Linked DNA regions of Homo sapiens: region 2 is linked to region 1. The links are contacts of gene promoters, found by promoter capture Hi-C in human tissues and cell types (Jung and others, 2019). All regions are on one chromosome and are shown on one strand. The core of a region is centred on a gene start or on the middle of the fragment in contact, and the rest is flanking DNA. Distances in the headings are between cores, read along the strand shown.

Region 1 (4,666 bases), core at 1,601-4,100:
AACTACCTATCAAGTCACTATGAAATAGTAAAGAAATCAATATTTCTCTAAATTCAGTGCAATTCAACAGCCACTTTATTGAATACTATATGTGTTATGCTAGGTGTTGGGAGAGAAAGGATTAAAACACTTGGTTTATGGAGCTAATAATAATCCAGTGGATGTAGAAAACAGTAGGGTAGCTAACAGATATAGACAGTATAATGGTAAAGAAGAAAAATCATTAACTGGATAGACAATCTAGGCAGACCAAACAGCACGTGCAAAAGCAGAGTTGCTTAGTAACACAGTATATTCACAGAACTCCAGTGTTAATTATGAAAACAAATTGCAGACCAACAACGTTTCACTGGCACATCTGATTTTTTTGTTTGAGAAAGAGCACCCTAGCTTCTGGGAGCTCATGTGGTACTACCAGCTAGGCTTTGGTGTTGCTAGGAGCAGACCTGGCACTCATAGCCACGCCCTAATGTTCTCCTGTTGAACACAATTTCACAAAAGTTCAACCTCAAATAAGGCCACTCTGTAATCATGTCTGAACAAGGACAAAAAAATAAAAATGTCAAACCACAAAATGACCAAGTATCTCCATCCTGGCTAAATGAATGACTGTTCCTTCTCTGCAGCTTTAACCTCATTCTAGTCTCTCATTTAAGACTTAGTAAGATACCCAATCACAGAATTACCCCAGCTTCCCGAACACATCCAATCCACAGTAAAGCTCTGCTTCCCTTACCTTCCCCTAAGACCACCTGACACGAGCCCAAATCCTTCCTAACTCTTATTCAAACGGCCCATGGTTCCCATGAATTCCAGTGCGTTTTCCCTCACTGCAATGAGGGATAAACCCAACCTGTCAAATCACAGGTGTATTCCTGATGGATTTTGGCTGGAGGGCAGTGACAAATTTTACTTTTCATGGTGAAATTAATCCCTAAAAATATCAACCAAAAGGGTTGAATTCAAGACTTTAAAATTTCCTTTTCCTCCTTTATATGAAGCGTTTTAAAGATCTGCTTGTGGGCATACCATAGCAACGTAATTATATTTTCGGATAACTTGACGAATTTTCTTCATCTCTTCATCCAAGTTGCAAGCCCAAACTTCACAAATTCTTTGGCTATGATCTACAGTTGCCGCTGGCATAGTGAGGGCACAAGGGAGTCTAGATGCCAAGCATCAAAATGTTATACTTGATTGAAGATTTGTTTCATAAAATATTTTATCCTTTATTTATGTACCTGTCAAAATAAAAAAACAATATGAAGACCAGATATATCAAATCTGAATCACAGAATAATTGATCCAGCAGGAACCTAAGAAGTTATTTATTCAAAGTTCTTGACTCATAAAAAAAAAAAATCAAAGTTTAGAAAGTAACTTAAGGTCACACAGCTAGTCTATAGGAAAAAAAGGACTACAGTACAGATTTCCTGGTCCTAATTTCAGTTATTTTAAAATAGCTTTTTTACACATACATACTAATCATATTTTATAACTTTCCACTAATTATTTATCTGAGTTCAACTACTCTGCATAAAACTTTATAAAGCCATCCATTTCCAGACAAAAAATGAAAAATTACTTATTTACATGTGACAAGATCAGATGTTACCATGGCAAAGATGGTGTTTATTTTTATTCCTCATTAATAAAACAACCAAAATCCGACTTGATAACAAGATCTACTTTACCGGCGTTTATTCTAACTAGACTAGAGGGGTCAAAAATGTTTGTAAATGCTCTGAGAAAAAAGTAACGGCCATGAAAATTATCTGAATGTTCGCAGTTGCAGAACGGAAAAAGAACACAATAGAACGTCTAAAACTTAGAGCATATTGCATGGTTACCAAAGATAGATGTCACATTTCTGGTCTATAAACAGAGTTCCTGTTGATTCTTGGGCAGGGAAATTTCAAATCCTTCTGCATTTTTCATACAAATTGGAAAAAAAAAAAACAAGAGTAAAAAGAGGGTCTTATGACTGTCTTCTAAACTCTGAAGAGTCACAAATGTAACTTCCAATTCTCCAAGTAGAGAAACTAAAGGAGATCCAGGACACCCCTCCTTTATAACTCTCCCACCCCGATAGGCACACACACACACATAAGCACAAAAACACAAAGACTTGGAAAGACCCTGTAGTCTAACATTGTTTTCCTCCACCTCTCTCTCTACTGCAGTCCCAGAAGCCCCGAAGAGACACCAAAGGCCTTCTCATTACTGGAGAAAGCATCTCCGTACTGCAGTTTCCCAGAGAAACGAGAGGACGGCACCGAGGTATTCAAGCCATAGATAACTCTCTTCCCTGGCAAAGCGCCAGTGCGAAGGTGCTGATAACACTGACTGGAGCTACACTGACTCCCAAGCACTGCCGCGTGAAACAATACGAAGAGGTGAGGATCTAGGCCACCGCCCTCCACTCCCAATTTCCGTCCCACTGCGAAGCCCCAGGTACAAAGCCTTTGCGTCATCACTACGCGCCAACCCCTTGACAAACCCCCAGCCCCAGTTACCCAGCCCCCAACCCGCCGCCAGGCTCCTTCCTCCGCCAGCCGCACTCCAGCTGGCGCCATCGCGCACCCTCTCAGGTTCATCGTCCCCGCCCCCTTTCTACTTCCCTAACCCGCCCCTCCCCCCGTAAGGCTGCAGCGGATGCAAGATCTACTTGTGTCGCTGAGCTCGCGCTCCTCCTCCTCCTCCTCGCCATAGAGACAGCACTCGGCGGCGGTGGCGGTGGCGGTGGCGGTAGCGGCGGCGGCAGCGGGTGCCCCATAGACACCTCTCGCCCAGCGAAGGGAAAGGCGAGCAGGAGCTGCGCCGCACCGTGCTGCGCCGTCGCTTTTCGCACGTCCTGACGGGGGCGCTAGATGATGACGCGACACGCAGAGGGGGCGGAGAGCGCCCCCGGGGGCGGGGCACGCAAGTGACGGCGGCGCGGGTGGTGGAGCGCTGGGCGGCCAGGCTCCCTGGCTGGCCGGTTTGGGCGTCTGGGCCGTGAAGGTGGGACCTCCTGTTCCGGGCCGCAAGTTTCCCTCTCCAGCCGCCCGCCGTTCGTAGCATGTCCCCCAGAACTCGGGGAGCGCAGGCAGGACAGGCTTAGAGAAGACGCGGTCCCCAGCGCTTGGGCCACGGACGTCCCACCCCGCTCCTCTGTCGCTGGAGAACCGCCGGGCCGAGCCACTGGGAGAAGCAGGCCAGAGCCTTCCAGGGCCTCCGGCCCGTGGACCCGAGGAGGATGAGCTGGCTTTTTCCCCTGACCAAGAGCGCCTCCTCCTCCGCGGCTGGGTCCCCCGGTGGCCTCACCAGCCTCCAGCAGCAGAAGCAGCGCCTGATCGAGTCCCTCCGGAACTCACACTCCAGGTGACTGGTCGCTGCCTCTCCACCGGAGGAAAAAGTAGGGTGGGAGGGCGGGCTTGTCCTAACCACCCTCACAGCGCCTCAGTCTGCTCCCCACCAGCTCCTCATGTGGTTTACCTCCCTTGGTTGTGGGTCACACGCTTGCTCTGCCACTCCTGCCCCCTTTTACTGTTTTCCTCCGGACCCTCCCTGCCTCCTGCCGCACCACTGCTCAGCGCTTCTAACTCGGATTTCCTCATCCCTCCTGACACATAGCTGCTGACTGTAATCTCTCAATCTCTCTCATAGTCTATTTCCAGTATCCCTTGCTGCCCAGGCTTCGCCACTGATCTTTCCCTTTGCCCACCTGATTGCCGCGTCAGCAGAATTGTTAAAATACAATTGTGAAGAGTAATCTCCAGGTTTCACAAAGAATGGAAAATAGAACTGTTGCAACATCAAAGGAAAGGGAAGCCAGAGTTTTCATCAGTGAATGCTTCTCGTCTGAGAGTCACTTATCACGTAGTCAGTCTTCTTGAGTCTCTAAGATTTACCCTGTTGGAGCAGTCTCTCCCCATCTCACAGCGACCAGTGCATGTACATTTCTCACTTCTTTCATAGTCTTGTCCCCACGCTCAAGAATTACTTTATGTTCATCTTGATTGTTCTGTTGTCTTCCTGTGAGTTTTTCATTTTATCATGGTCAGTTTAGAAATATTTTTACAATTCATATTATTTCAACTTTTACTGTAAATTGGTTTGCTGCAGCCTTTTACATTGCAAATGTCTATGGTCTCTAATGGTTTTCAAAAATTAGAACTGCTTCTTTATATTTTATGCATTTTGCAAGTATATTTACTTAACAGTTTCACACTATTTTAAATAAAGATGACAACATTGTTAAGTCCCTAACCCCTTTTTTTTTTTTTTTTTTTGCCGGGGGTACGGCTCTCCTGTTGCCCAGGCTGGAGCGCAGTGGCGCGATCTCGGTTCACTGCAACCTCCGTCTCCCGGATTCAAGCAATCATCCTCCCTCAGCTCCCCACACCCCTCCGAGTAGCTGGGATTACAGGTGCGCGCCACCATGCGCGGCTAATATTTTGTATTTTTAGTAGAGACGGGGTTTCACCACATTGGTCAGGCTGGTCTCGAACTCCTGACCTTAGATTATCCACCCGCTTCGGCCTCCCAAAGTGCTGGGATTACAGGAATAAGCCACCTCGCCGGGCTCCTAGCCCTTTTAAAAATATTATTTTCATACAGTTAAAAAATATGTATCCTCAGATAATATCGAATAATTCTTATTTAAAATGGAATAATTTTTAAT
Region 2 (4,933 bases), core at 2,051-4,550, 1.7 Mb after region 1:
CTATCTAACCATTCAAAATGAAACATGAAAAGTGTAACATGAAAAGAATCAGAATACAAACTATCACTGCATGATTATAGCTATATAAAAAATGTATACATATAAACATCTATAGGGAAGTCAGAGGAAAATAAAAAGGATGGCTTGATTGGGAGGCTGAATTATGGTCGGTTTTTAAAAAATTAACTTAATGTAACTTTTCTGCAATTAGAAAACTATATTTTGGCTGGACGCGGTAGCTCACACCTGTAATCTCAGCACTTTGGGAGGCCAAAGCAGGTGGATCACGATGTCAGGAGTTCGAGACCAGCCTGACCTACATGGTGAAACCCCATCTCTACTACAAATACAAAAATTAGCCAGGTGTGGTGGTTCCTGTAATCTCAGCTACTCTGGAGGCTGAGGCAAGAGAATCACTTGAACCAGGGAGGCAGAGGCTGCAGTGAGCCAAGATCGTGCCACTGCACTCCAGCCTGGGTGACAGAGCTAGACTCCATCTCAAAAAAAAAAAAAAGAAAACTGTATTTTGTTTTTAAACACATCATTTTCCAACTGATTATCATCACCCACAGTCCATAACAAGAATATTTCTTTGTGTGGCTTCTGTTAAAGTACACCAACAAAAAAACCAGTCTTTCCCCAAAATAGATCACATTTTTATATAATCAGGAACACCATTCAGCCGAACAGGGCATGGAACAGAACTGCCAGGCATCCCATTTATACTGATTGTCCTACATTTCAACATCTGTCCCAGGGTCCTGTGTAACTCCTAAATTCCCTTATTTGAAACAAGAACTACAAAGGTGATGGTGAAAGTGGTACATCCTAACTCTGAACTCCTAAGACCTCCTTCCTCGCTGTTTTAGGCAACTGTCAAAAATCAGGAGTGTCTCTGTTCTCCGGCTGAGGACTAATTAAAAACAAGTAGCAAGGAAAAAAATTTCAAGACACAAAGAAATTTGACCTAGCACAGTCAGGGACGCCTTCTTTTGCCTCTTTACTATGAACCTAAACATTAACCAGGATACAGATATCACCGGTACTGGTTTCTACCCACTGGTTATGAGACATCATCTTTTCTCATGTCTGAACAGTGACTGACCATTCACTTTGGGGGAGAGAAGCGTGAAGGGTTTTAACAGCAACGAAGTAACTATTTCAAAGAGGGAAATGTTAGTATTTCTATTCTATGCTTTGGAGTAGAAATGACTGACAATACTAGGAAGACCCAATCACACCTCCATCACCCCACTGGAGACAGGTTCAGGGGGCAGACCCCACTTTGTTCTTTAATACCAAGAGCTAGCGTGCACAACATTCAGACAGCAATTTCTTAAAAGAGCTCCACAATCACTTAATGTTCATAACGCGTCAAATGTATCGGTCTGAAAAAAGGTGCATACTCCTCTTGGTGTTACGTGTTTGATAATCACAGGTTGTTAATTATCCTTTTCCCCAATAGAGAGGAAATATTAATTTTTTGAAGTGTTTGGGGAGCTTCAGGCTAGTAAAAGAGGAACTCGGCCAAGGGGCTGCCACGTAAGGTGCCCTAATTTGGGCAGGTGGTTAGGGAAAGCTCTCTGAGAAACTAACGCCTGCAGAGATGAGAAATATGACAGGCTGGGGAAGGTCAGCGACATATTGGCGGGAAGGCCATACGCATGGCCTTAAGGAATGGAAGGATGGATGAGGCTACTCAGATAACTAAGAGAAAGCCAAAGTGGCCACAGAAGAGCAAGTGAGTGGGCAAGTTTAGAGATTTGCAGGATGAAGAGTGTAGCTCAAGGAAAGGACGGAGCATTTTGATGGGTTTGATGGGAAGCCACTGAAGCGTTTTATGGGATACAGTGATTCATTTGCATTTTAAAAGATTATTCATTTACACTTTTAAAAGATCATATGGGTGTTATATGGAAAATGAATTGGAGTGAGACAAGAAGCAGCAGAGATATCAGCTAGAAATCCAAACGAGAACAGGGAAGTTTGGAGGAATAGGCAAAAGTGGATGAATTAAAATATATTTTGTAGGAAGAATTACACAGTTTTCTGATAAACTGGATTTAAAGAATGAGGGAAAGGGGCCAGGCACAGTGGCTCATGCCTTTAATCTTAGCACTCTGGGAGGCTGGGGTGGGCGCACCACTTGAGGTCAGGAGTTCGAGACCAGCCTGGCCAACATGGCAAAACCCCGTCTCTACTAAAAAATACAAAAATTGGCCAGGCGTGGAGCCATGCACCTGTGATCCCAGCTACTCAGGAAGCTAAGGCAGGAGAATCGCTTGAACCTGGGACGTGGAGGTTGCAGTGAACCGCGATGGCGCTATTGCACTCCAGCCTAGGCGACAAAAGCGAAAATCCGTCTCAAACAAAAAAAAAAAAAAAAAAGAGGGAAAGGGGAGATTAAGGTTAATTAGAATAGATACTAACCACTTACTCTGTGCCAGGCACTGTTCTAATGTAATACATGGAATATCTCATTTAATGCTCAGAACAATCCTATGAGGTGGGGGCTACTGTCATCCCCATCTTATAGGTGGAAAAAAGAAGGCAATGAGAGGCTAAATAACTTTTCCAAAGATATATAGATCCTAGATTCACACCCGAGCAGTCCAAATCTAGAACTCGTGGCATTGCGGATGACTCCCAGGAATCTGGCTTGAACAACCAGGTGCATGTATTGAGAATGGGGAGACTAGAGAAGAAACAGTATCAAGAGCCTACACTGGGGCTTCCAAGTGATGCCCCAAGGACTCACTAAAACATCAGAAAGAACATTTTTAAAAAGGAATCCATTACAGGGGTGCTAGAAAATAAGAAAAGATGCCATCTATACAGCAAAAGTTTCAAGAAATTCCAAGAAGATAAATTTTTGCTTAGAATCTCAACTTTAAGGCCGAGAACTGTTCTCTAAAGCAAGGTTCCCCTTGAGCAAGGATTCTTAACCTCAGGTCCGTGGGGAAGCAATTGCCAATCAAGAGAATTCTGGAAGTTCATGAAGCTGGGGAGGGGGTGATTTACATATTTATTTGCATTTACCTTTAGATGAAATTTAGCATGTTTTCAAATACAAATGTAAGCAACAAACCAGAGTATTGGTAGCAATAACCATAACTTGTCATCAATAGAAATTCATCATTTTCATATCATCTAACAGTTACTACAGATATTTGGAAATATGTATACTCGTCCCTAGTTTGAAATGATAATAGTTACTAGACTCACCATTAAATCTTGTTATCAATAAAGAAACATAGCTTTTTTTTTTTTTTTAGAGATGGGATCTAGATATGTTGCTCTGACTGGACTCAAACTCTTGACCTCAAGCAATCCTCTTGCCTAAGCCTCCTGAGAAGTTGGGATACATATATTATCATACCACAAATGTAATATTTTGGTAGCCAATCAAATTGGTTTCTTTTGCAACTCTATCTACATTATTGTATGCATTTAAAATGCACTATTCTGACAAAAGATCTAGAATTTTATCAGACTATCAAGAGGAGCCTGCTCAAGACTATTGTTTCTCAAATTGCAACTTATGACCCATTAGTGGCTTGTAAAATCACTTTAGTGGATCATGACCACATTTTTATATCAATAAGTTTATACACACATATCTATTTAATAGAATATAAGTAAAAATACCAGAGCAGAAAACACACTGTAAGATAAGCATTGTTTCATGGAACGTCTAAGTCACACGTGCATGTGAGTGTGTGTGCTGAGTCATGATTAAAAGTGTATTTCTCAAGGTTGCTCATGACCTAAACTGTTGGAAACATACTACCCTAGAGTGGTTCTCAAAATTTATCATGAATTAGCATTACCTACAGCACCAAGTAAAACACGTACTGCTGGGGTCCATCCCAGAGTTTCTGATGCCGTAGGTCTGTGGGGCCTGCGAATCTGCATTTTCTAACAATTTTTCAGGTGATGCTGATGTTGCTGGTACAGGAGCCATCTTCTTTGTGAACCACTGCTCTCGACCAATGGTCTTCGTACTCTGTTGTATATACGAATCACCTGGAATCTTCTTAAAACAGAAACTGAGCAGGTTAAGGTGGGGCCTGGGACTCCGCATTCCTAAAAGTTCCCTGGTGACCATGATCCACAGACCAGCTTTGAGGAGCAAGGCTTGAAGGCGCTAAAGCTTCCGAATGAAGCCGTGTTCAAAGTACGCTCAGACTATCACAAAAGTGAAACATTTTTTAAAAGGGACTGCTCGACCTAGAAGTAAAATTCACTAAAGGGCTCTGCTTAATAAAGTGCTCCATTAACATACTCCACCTTGCTAAATAATATAAAATTCATTCTGCTTGCATTTGTGTGGAGGCTAAAGTAACTCTATCTTGGAAACTAACATGCCATGTTGACTTCTGATTAACCCCAGTTCTGGGAATGCCTCTGAGATTTCCAATTTATCTACTGTTTCTTGAGTAATGGCACATACTTACAGTAAATCCTGCCCTTACATCAAATTCCTACCTATTCCCTCCGAAGCATGTGTGCCCCTTCCCTAGATATAATCCCTGGGTCTGGGGTATAATGGCATGGAGATCTATCCGTCTTGCAGTTGCCAAAAACCACGCTTCTGTCTGTCAGTTCCCCAATAAAACACCCTATAACAACAGTCTGGACCTGTCTGCCTTCTCCTTTGGTTTCTCAGCTCCACCTGCACTGGGGGGTTATTCTTACCAAACAATTAGTTATTCTTGAAGCTGTGAGCCCCTATTGATACATCCTCTTCCCATAGCAAGGCTTATAAATTTTTACTGATCTCTCCAATAATTAATGCAGGTCTTTGAAAACTGTATTGTTAAAACAATCAGATTAATGACAGACCCACAGAATTCAGACTACTATTTCCTTTGGCATTACTAACTGAATAAAATATATTCTTTTGCTTCATCACAGTTGTTTTTACGAACAT

What was found. The method cuts DNA at HindIII sites, captures the fragments that hold promoters and counts their contacts. A contact is called where the count stands out against the background at its distance.
Region 2: a fragment that was not itself captured here is called in contact with the fragment with the promoter of CNOT7 in region 1 in 1 of the 25 tissues and cell types used here (aorta).

Annotation. Positions count from the first base shown.
Region 1 is chr8:17,244,007-17,248,672 of GRCh38, forward strand. It overlaps CNOT7 (CCR4-NOT transcription complex subunit 7), which reads right to left and starts at 2,851. Exons shown (of 7, transcript NM_013354.7): 1 at 2,669-2,851; 2 at 1,030-1,241. The coding sequence starts at 1,146. It overlaps VPS37A (VPS37A subunit of ESCRT-I), which reads left to right and starts at 2,952. Exons shown (of 12, transcript NM_152415.3): 1 at 2,952-3,363. The coding sequence starts at 3,239. RefSeq lists an enhancer at 2,600-3,448. The HindIII fragment of the contact is 14,692 bases long and covers 1-4,666 here.
Region 2 is chr8:18,936,258-18,941,190 of GRCh38, forward strand. All of the region lies in intron 1 of PSD3 (pleckstrin and Sec7 domain containing 3), which reads right to left. Among named protein-coding and RNA genes, the nearest start is that of PSD3, 75 kb to the right of the region's middle. RefSeq lists an enhancer at 3,315-4,514. The HindIII fragment of the contact is 5,306 bases long and covers 648-4,933 here.